2 separate regions of the Homo sapiens genome follow, and region 2 is linked to region 1. The links are contacts of gene promoters, found by promoter capture Hi-C in blood cells and fetal thymus (Javierre and others, 2016). All regions are on one chromosome and are shown on one strand. Each heading gives the region's core, a stretch centred on a gene start or on the middle of the fragment in contact. The rest is flanking DNA. Distances are from core to core; before and after follow the strand shown. Region 1 holds the start of RAB34 (RAB34, member RAS oncogene family). Region 2 has its middle 4.8 kb from the start of FOXN1.

Evidence for each region. The method cuts DNA at HindIII sites, captures the fragments that hold promoters and counts their contacts. A CHiCAGO score of 5 or more calls a contact.
Region 2: a fragment that was not itself captured here is called in contact with the fragment with the promoter of RAB34 in region 1 in 1 of 17 cell types (naive B cells); the score reaches 5.5 in naive B cells.

The regions. Positions count from the first base shown.
Region 1 is chr17:28,715,429-28,720,029 of GRCh38, forward strand. It overlaps RAB34 (RAB34, member RAS oncogene family), which reads right to left and starts at 2,440. Exons shown (of 10, transcript NM_031934.6): 1 at 1,785-2,440; 2 at 1,475-1,566; 3 at 565-630; 4 at 372-473; 5 at 213-277; 6 at 28-79. The coding sequence starts at 1,838. It overlaps RPL23A (ribosomal protein L23a), which reads left to right and starts at 4,557. Exons shown (of 5, transcript NM_000984.6): 1 at 4,557-4,601. The coding sequence starts at 4,578. RefSeq lists a silencer at 2,273-2,532 and enhancers at 3,213-3,813, 3,814-4,415, 4,072-4,121, 4,552-4,601. The HindIII fragment of the contact is 7,301 bases long and covers 1-4,381 here.
Region 2 is chr17:28,499,346-28,503,847 of GRCh38, forward strand. No RefSeq gene overlaps it. Among named protein-coding and RNA genes, the nearest start is that of FOXN1, 4.8 kb to the right of the region's middle. RefSeq lists a silencer at 1,803-1,999. The HindIII fragment of the contact is 4,283 bases long and covers 1-3,455 here.

The sequences.
Region 1 (4,601 bases), core at 1,190-3,689:
CCATTATATTGCAGGATGCTCACTTACTTGGTATGTTCCAGAGATGCCACATCATTCAGGTTGAAGACAATGATGATGGCTGGAAGAGTGGCAGAAACAGCCCCAGGTTGACAGGGAAGACACTACTGCTCATTTCCCCAATCCTTCCAGCTCCATATGAGAAGCCATGTGCACTCTGAGACCCACCTACCCCACTTCACCCAGCCCCTTACCTTGAGCTCCTCTATAGTAGGTTGATGCAATGCATTTGAACCTCTCCTGCCCAGCGGTATCCCAACTGGAAGGAAGGAAGAGTGAAGCACAGGTATGTATCTTGGGGGGTGTGGGTGCTGGGGAGAAGGGATAGCTGGAAGGGGTGTGGAAGCACTCACAGCTGCAAACTGAAGGGAATGCCCAGCACCTCAAATCGTTCCATCTCGAAGTCCACTCCAATGGTGGCCTTGTAATTCTTATCAAAGGTGTCTTTGCAGAACCTGAGAGGGTACCAGATGCTGTGATCTGGAGCCAGCCCACCTGGCTAGGCTTGGCCCCACCCTGCCCAGCTCAGCTCCAGCACCCCCTTACCTATTAATGAGGCAAGTCTTCCCCACCGACAGGTCCCCCACCACAATGACCTTGGAGATCTTAAATCTGCTGGACACAAGAGTGGGCAAGGGGAGTGGGCACGAGCTCTTTCACCCTAGGGAGTTCCAATGCTCCCGACTAGGTCCAGAAAGGTAGCTGCACCCAGGCTGAGGGTATTATAGACACCAGGCATCCCAGGCAGCTGCGTGGACAGGTGTGCTGGGGAGGAGGAGTGTTTTGTGCTCCAGAAGCAGAGAGACATGAATTTGAATCCCAGCTCTCACACTGATTAGCTGTGTGACTTTGGACACGTTATTTAGCCTCTCTAAGCCTCAGTTTAAACATTTAAGTAAAGTTAGTATATATTTTACTGGGTCGTTGTGAAGGTTAAAATGAGATAAATGTCCTATATTCTAAGACACCCTCCCCCCCGCATTTTAATGTCTGAAATCAGGATATATCTTAAGTGATGGACTTTTCCATTCAATAAAGATGATAGTACCCAACACTGCCTGGCACACAGCAAATGCTTAATTAATGGTGCCAACTGTTATCAGTATTACCTTTAAAACCCACAATAAGACTCATCCCTGTAAGCACAGCCAGACCCCTGCCCTGGGGCTCCATGGATGCTATGTGGGGATCTGAGCAGGTGACCACCTTCCCATTTCAGACACCTTAGTCTCTACTCAGAAATCCAGCTGCCACCCTTCTACCCAACCCCATCTCATAGAACTCACAACAACCTTGTTGGGAGAAAAGGAGGGGATACAGGGGCTTAAAGAGGGGGAAATAACCATATAGCTGGTAGGGGCTGAAATGAAGCCCCAAGGGGGTGGTTGTTTACCCTCGCTATGACTACAGAGTTTCCTGGGACCTCCTCTCTTTGTTGTGGGTGTCCCTAACTCACCCCACGGTGCCTGTCCGGTGCTCCTGGCAGGCGCAGGTGACGCGGGGGTGGAAGTCTTTGTGCCCGTGCAAAGCGGCCTCCTTCCTCAGGCACTTAGTGGGAAGGATGGAAGAGAATGGAGCTTCCTACTCCTGGCCCTTGTCCCGCAGCCAAGCGGCCCGGGTAGGGGTGGAGTGCAGGGACCACCCAGAAGCACCAGGCCTAGCTGGGTGGCAGGGCTGGGCCCAGTCCTCTAACTGGTCTGGTGCCGCCTCCTCCTCGCCCACACCCCGGGCTGTAGACTGAAGCCCGACGTGGCCCCGGCGCCTACCTGGGGCAGCTCCGCCAGGACGCGATCCCTCCGCACGGGTGCCAGAATGTTCATCCTGCCTGCGGCCTTGCAGGGCGCCCTGAGAAGGCGCCGAGGCCGGATCCGCGTCAGCGACCCGGGCGCGTGGAGACCCGACGATCACCCGCGGCCGGGGTGTCCCGACTACAACTCGGGGCCACGGGGACCCTACGGGAGTCCGCGGTCTCGGAGACGCTACGACCACCGCGGGCCACGGAGATGAAACAATCACCCGGGGCCGCGGCGAGCCCAAAATCACCCGGGCCCTGGGCGTCCCGAAGATGACTCTGGGGCGAGGAGACTCTTCGGCCGCCAATTGGGGGCGGGGAGTCCCGTCTGGTGGGGGCCGGGCCCGCGCAGACCCTACGATTACGCGGGGCCGGATAGTTCCTACGATTACGCGGGGCCGGATGGTTCCTACAATAACCCGGGGCCGCGGAGACCCGACGTCATCTCGGGGCTGAGGCTGCCCTACCATTACAGAGCGGCCCGGGGGCGCGGAGCGGCCCCGCCACACGGGGTCAGTGTGGGCAGGGGCGGCGCTGCCAAGGCCCGCAGGCCGCTGGAGGAGGGGGCGAGGGGCCCAGTCCGGCTACAGGGCCTCGAGTCCCACTCCGCTCGGGCTCCGCCAACGCTGTAACACGATCCCCGGAAATTCCTGGAGAAGGGCCGCCCCCCGCCCCTCTCCTGGCGGCTCCAGGCCTCGCTGCCCGCCCTCGCCACCCCCTCCTCTCCACCCTTCTGCGTTGCCCCGCTCAGGCTCCCTCTTTTGACGCTTCACCGGGCACCAGGACCGCCCCGACCCAGGCTGGAGCCTATCCAGATAGGGACTCCCCAGGCTGCTCTCCCCTGCACCTCTATACCCGGCTGCGCCTTCATGGGGACCCTTACCCAGCCGAATTGGTGATGGGGAATCGGAGACTGCTGCGCAGCATCTGGCGATGCCAGGAACCAGCAGGGAGGGGAAAGGGGGAGAGAAGGGGCCCAAGGAGAGGCGGCGCTTCCCTCCTCAACTCCAGGCCTGGGAGGTGACTCATAGAGTCTGCCCCCTCTCGCCCTTCTGCCCTGGGAGGTCGGGGGTGAGGATGGTGGAGGGGAAGCGTGCGAAGGGGGTGCCAGGGTTAGAATGAGGTGCCCACCGAGGAGAGAGACGTCTGAAGTCTGGCGTCTTTTCCTTCAAGGCTGCTGTGTAGATTGTGAGGTGGGAGGGCTGAAGATCAAGTTCCCTCGAGGGAGGTTAAAGAAGGGCTAAGTGGACCCGGAAACTCTGCTCTTCGGGGTGGTCTCCGCTCTGGGAGGCGGGGACTCCCCTCTGGTATGGGTGTTCATTGTTCTGGCCCCATTGGAATCTATCCCCCAGGGACAACTCCTTTGTGCAAAGTCCTGCAGGATAGAAGAGGGGGCAGTGCACAATCAATTTCACCGTCAAAGGGGACATGTCTGGTTTTATGAAGGGAGAGGGAAGAAGAAAGGATCAAGTGGGGATGGGTTAGGCACACACCTTAGGAGAAGCGAACCTGAGTGTTAAGAAACCTTTCTCTGTGTCTGGAGCTGAATTTGAGGATGTAAAGATGACCAGGACACGGAAGGGAAGACTAGTTTAGGGCAGGGGATTGTGAGTGAAGTTACTAACCGGAAAAACTAGCGAATCTTGGAGAAATGTGTGGAATTTTCATAGAACTTCAAATGCATTATCAGGAAACGCAGTAAAACTTGACAGTATCAGTGTCGCAGGTAAAGAGGGGCAGGTGTGGCCGCCTTGTACTTCCTCTGACACTTCCCCCTCGTGACTCGATTATTTATTTATTTATTTATTTATTTATTTTGAGACAGGGTCTCACTCTGCCACCCAGGCTGGAATGGCTCATTGCAGCCTCGACCTCCAGGGCTGAAGCGATCCTCCCACCTCAGCCTCCCAAGGAACTGGGACTACAGGCACGCACCACCACGCCCGGCTAATTTTTGTATTCTTTTGTAGAGACAGGGTTTCGCCGTGTTGCCCAGGGTGGTCTCGAACTCCTGGGCTCGAAGCAATTCGTCCACCTCGGCCTCACAAAGTGCTGGGATTACAGGCGTGAGTCACCGCGCCCGGCCCTGACTTGATTTTTTTCTGCCACCAAATCACTGTGTTATTGATAAACCACATTCCTCTCTGGACCTCAGTTCGACCGAGCAAATCCTGCTCCAGCACTCTAGAACTTAGCTGTATCTAACTCCCGAGTCAATCCAAATGTGTTCTTTCCTCTTGGCAGCGTTCCTGCCTCCTGGCATGGCAATCCTCTTCCCTGAGACTGGCAGTTGCTCAAGATAGGAAGCTCCCGGGACCAGACCCGAGCGCCAGCCGGCTACGCCGTCCGCTGGCCTGAGCAAATAAACGCGTGTCTTCAAAAAACTACAATCCCCATGGTGGCACGCGCCTGTAGTCCCAGCTACTCTGGTGGCTGAGGCAGGAGAATGGCGTAAACCCGGGAGGCGGAGCTTACAGTGAGCCGAGATCGCGCCACTGCACTCCAGCCTGGGCGACAGAGCGCTCAAAAAAAAAACAAAAAACAAAAAACAAAAAACTACAACCCCCATGAAGCTTTAGTGCCTTTGAGGGGAGGAGTGGCGCATGTTTGTTCACGCACGAAAAAGAAATTAAACCTAACTACCGTTCCCAGAGGGCGCCGCTCTGCAAATTACCCAATCAGCTCTAAGTACAAAGCATCGCGAGTCTTTAGTGCTCTTTGGCGCTATAAGCCCGTGGGAACGAGCATTGGAGACCCTTTTCACAAGATGGCGCCGAAAGCGAAGAAGGAA
Region 2 (4,502 bases), core at 64-2,563, 220 kb before region 1:
GCAGGCAGGAGGGTGGACAGGCAGCAGGTGGCACCTGTCGGCCTAATCACCATCATTAACTGGGCAATAAAGCGGCACGGCCTGGGCTAGTCTTTGAAGGAAGGGCCCGCCAGCCAGGTCAGGTTTACACAGGCAGCCCGGCAGCTCGGCTCCACACACACTCCAGGCTGCGGCAGGTAGATGGGCCCTGCTGGGACTGAGTCTGCAGCCTCGCTGCCCAGGCACCCACACCCCATCATTGATGGCTTCTAGGAAGTTAGCAGTGAGCTTTGGGTGTCTCCTACCAGCTGGACTTGTGCGGTGCTGGGACTCAACAACTTCTGCGGTAGTGAGCATCCCATTGCTAAGATCAACAAGTCTGGAAGTGACTTGAGGACAGTCTGCCTGATTCGAGCTGTGTCCCCAGTTCCTCCACAGGGCCTGGCACAGCAAATAGTGCATGAAGGAGGAATGTGTGGGAACTATACGGGAGCTTCTTGCTCCCAGAGGGAAGCTGGACACGCTCCCCTCCAAGCCTCTTTCCAGACTGCCGTGTGTGGAGTGCTGTGTGACTTTGAGAAATATCTTGACCTCTCTGGGCCAATGTCACCTTAAGCTCAGCAGATAGGCCCAGATTTCTGAGCCGACCCATAGTGTTCCCCTGACCCTGTCCCCTGAGGTCCTGGGAGTGTCCCTGTTTCCCTACTCCCTCCTCCTGCCAGCCAGCACCAGCCCTCTATGGCAACCACAGGGCCCAGGGATAGGTGGAGCTTGTTAGGGAGCTTGTGGAGGCAGGAGCAGGGCTGTCCACACCACTCTCTGAGTTCACCTGGACCTGGGCCCCGGCCAAAGTGCGCTCTAGAGGTTAAGGTCATTGGCCCCAGAGTAGGCTCCTTGGGGGCGCAGGCCATGACTTCCTATCTCCTCACAGTCTTGGAGGGGAGGCTGCTTTCTGAAGGAGGGAGGGAAGGGTGGAGGAAGCTAGGGAGTGTTGGGTCAGGGGTCGAGTAGAACTGGGTGGGTGAAGTTCTGGTGGAGTACCAGTCTCCAACCCTGCAGCCTCCACCCCAGTTTGGCAAGGGAAGGGGAAGGGGGTGTGCAGAGGAGAAGGCAAGGAAGGGAACAGAGCAGCCTAGTTGGAAAGAATGTGACGGGGACTCAGAAGAGTGCTCTGAAGGGTGGAAAGACCCACAAATGTGTGTACGTGGAGTCACAGATCCTTGGGTACCCACAGAACCCATAGACACATGCACAGACATGGATACCCGGGAACACACAGTTACACACATTCACACACAAACACTCATGCATACAACATTACAGGCTCTCACAGCCTGAAAGACACACAGGACCACCCCCAGAAACACACACAGACATACACAGCCACAGCCACCTGTACACACACAGTCGCTCAGACGCCTCCGCACCCCGTGTCAGACCTGAGTGTTCTCGCTGCATGTGGCTACCCACATTTAGACACAGATTCTGGCACGGACATACCCAGTAGCACATTACAGCTCCACAGACTTCAGGCGCACCCATGGTGACACGTGAAAGTGAGAACACAAATGTAAATACGTACACACTCATGCAGAGGTACACATGTACTTACACAGACACTGACACCAGTGAAAACACACACACCCCAGCATTGCTTCTCCCACCTCCACAGCAGGAGGGATTAAGACAAGAGGTGAGAAGCCCTCCCCACCCAGCAGGACTCTGTGTTCCTCCCCCACCGACCCCCCCACCAAGCTCTCAGATTGGAAACTCCCTGGATTTCCCAGGGGGTCAGCCAACCAGAACAGGCTCAGACCTCGGCCCAGCTGCCCCGCCACACGCCCTCCACAGCTCTGGGTGCTTCTCCATCAGCCACAGCCAATGAGCTGTCTGCTCTTCCCCAGGAAGCTCACCCTAATTAACCCCAGATCTCCCCACCCCTTCTTTGACATGTGGTCCCTGGGCCTCAGGGCCTCATGGCAGCTTTGCTTGGGCCCTGTTCCTCTGTGGATGTTCTTCAGTGTCTTGCACACCAGTGGAGTGAGACTTGGAAAGCAGCAGGCTCAAATCTTGGGAACTCACTTTGGAAAAGCAAGTCCAGCCTGCATGAGCGGAAGCAGACAGAAGATGGCCAATCCAGATGCAGGGTTCAGGAAGGGGTCCCCCTCCTCCATCACATTGGGGCTCCCAAGGGTGGGCACATGCTCTTCCTTCTTCCTAGCGTCCCTAGGGTCTTTCCCCAGACTGAAGCATAGCAGACATGGGCCCCAGGGATTTCCATCCCCAGCCAGGGCTGTTTTCTGGCCCAAAGCAGCCCAGCCCTGGGCACAGCTCAGCAGCATACAGTGAACTGCTTCTGACCTCCAGTATTCAGAGGGACAGAGCTTTCTCTGGCCCCAGCCTGTCTAAGCATCTAGCTGCAGCTCCTCCAGGCCAGAGCCCAGCTCAGCTCCATCTGAGGACCTGAAATGAGGGTGCTGGAGTGTGTGGGACCAAAACTCCAGACAAAAGTCCTTTCCCAATACTGCAGCAGCTGGAGTTGAGGCTAGACACCAGGACAGACTTTCTGGGCCTAAGAGAGAATTCTGGAGGGCTGGTGTGATGAGAGAAGGAGGGGATGGTCCTATCTAGAGACAGAGGAGAAACACCTCACAAATCCCCTTTCAGTCCAAGGACTGTGGCAATCCCAAGGTTCCTGTTTCAACTCCCAGACTGCATGCAATGAGGAAGTCATGCTTCCCAAAGGAAAGAGGGAGCCAGAGCCAGAGCCTACACCCATTCCTGGGGCAGAGGTGGATCCTGATTTGGAAGAGAAAGAAGTTCATCTCACCCGCCAGAAGCAGTCTCACTGTGGGAGGTGATAACTACAGTCTCTCCTGGGCATCCCATCAGGGCCTCCCTGAGACCCTTGGCCCCTGAATTAATTTGCATTTTCTTGATTTTTAATGAAGTTGAAAATCGTTTCACTTGTGTCTTGGCCGTTTGTATTTTACCTGTGAATTGCTTGTGTCCTTTGCCCATTTTTCTGTGAAATCATCTTTTTATTTATTTAGAGGAGCTCCTTATATATTGTGGCTATTAACTCTCTATCTGTTACATATGTTTCAACACTTTCTTCCAGGCTATGTTATGTCTTTTAACTTTGTTCATGTTACATTTTGCTCTAAAGAAATTTACAGTTTTTATTTAGTCAAATCTGTCAATGTATTCCTTTATGGCTTCTGCATTTGATGTCATGTTTAAAAATGCCTTTCTCCACTCCATAATCATAAAAATATTTCCTATATTTTTTCTATTTGTTTGTATGATTTTCATTTTTACATTAGATTGTTAATCCATCTAGATTTTTTAATGTACAGTGTGAAGTAGGATTTAACTTTATTTCTTTCCAATGGAAAGTTCATTGCCCCAACTCCATTTATTAAATTTTTTACTTGCTACTTTAAAATACTTTACAGTCCAGATGTCGTGGCTCAAGCTTATAATACCAGTGCTTTGGGAGTTTGAGACCAGCCTGGGCAACAGAGCAACACCCCATCTCTACAAAAAAAAATTCTTTTTTAACTAACTGAGCATGGTATAACTGTAGTCCCAGCTACTGGGGAGGCTGAAGTGAGAGGATCACTTGAGTCCAGGAGGTGGAGGCTGCAGTGAGCTATGATCTTGCCACTGCACTCCAGCCTGGGCAACAGAGCGAGACCCTGTCTCAGAAAAATAAAGTAAAATACCCTACTATTATATATCTATTTTAAAATACCTTGTTATCATATTCCCATTTCTCACAAATATCCAAGTTTATTCTGGACTCTATTATCTTCCATTAATTTATTTATTTCTGTATCAAAGTTGCAGCTTTAATTATGGAAGCCTTATTGAACATTTTGAAAACTGGCAGGGAAAGTTACCTCTGTTAGTCTTCTTTCTCAAAAAGCTCCAAGCTATTCTCATGTATTTACCCTTCCCCCAAACTATAGAATCAACTCGTCAAGTTTAGGGGGCAAAAAATCCTTTAGACTTTTGATTTGAATTACATTCAGCTTCTATTTAGAGGAGAACTGACATCCTTACAATATTATATTCAGCCTTCCTGTTGTTGCTGTTTTAGAGACAGGGTCTCTCGCCTTGTAGCCCAGGCTGGTGTCAAAACTCCTGGGATCAGGCGATCCTCTCACCTCCCGAAGTGCTGGGATTACAGGCATGAGCTACCATGCCTAGCCTTTTTTTTCTTTTTTACTTTTTTTTTTTTTTTTCAGCCTTCCAGTTCAGTAACATGATATGCCCTTATTTTTTATTCAGGTCTTATTTTATGTCTGTCAGTAAAAATGTATTGTTTTCTTCATGTAGATTTCATGCATTTCTTATTAAGTTTATTCCTGGATATTTTGTATTGTTATTTTTGTGAGCTAAATCTTTTTGTCTCCTTTTTTTTCTTTCTTTTTTTTTTTTTTTTTTTTTTTTGAGACAGGGTCTCACTCTGTCCCCCAAGCTAGAATGCAGTGGCTCACCGAAACCTCTCGGCTCAC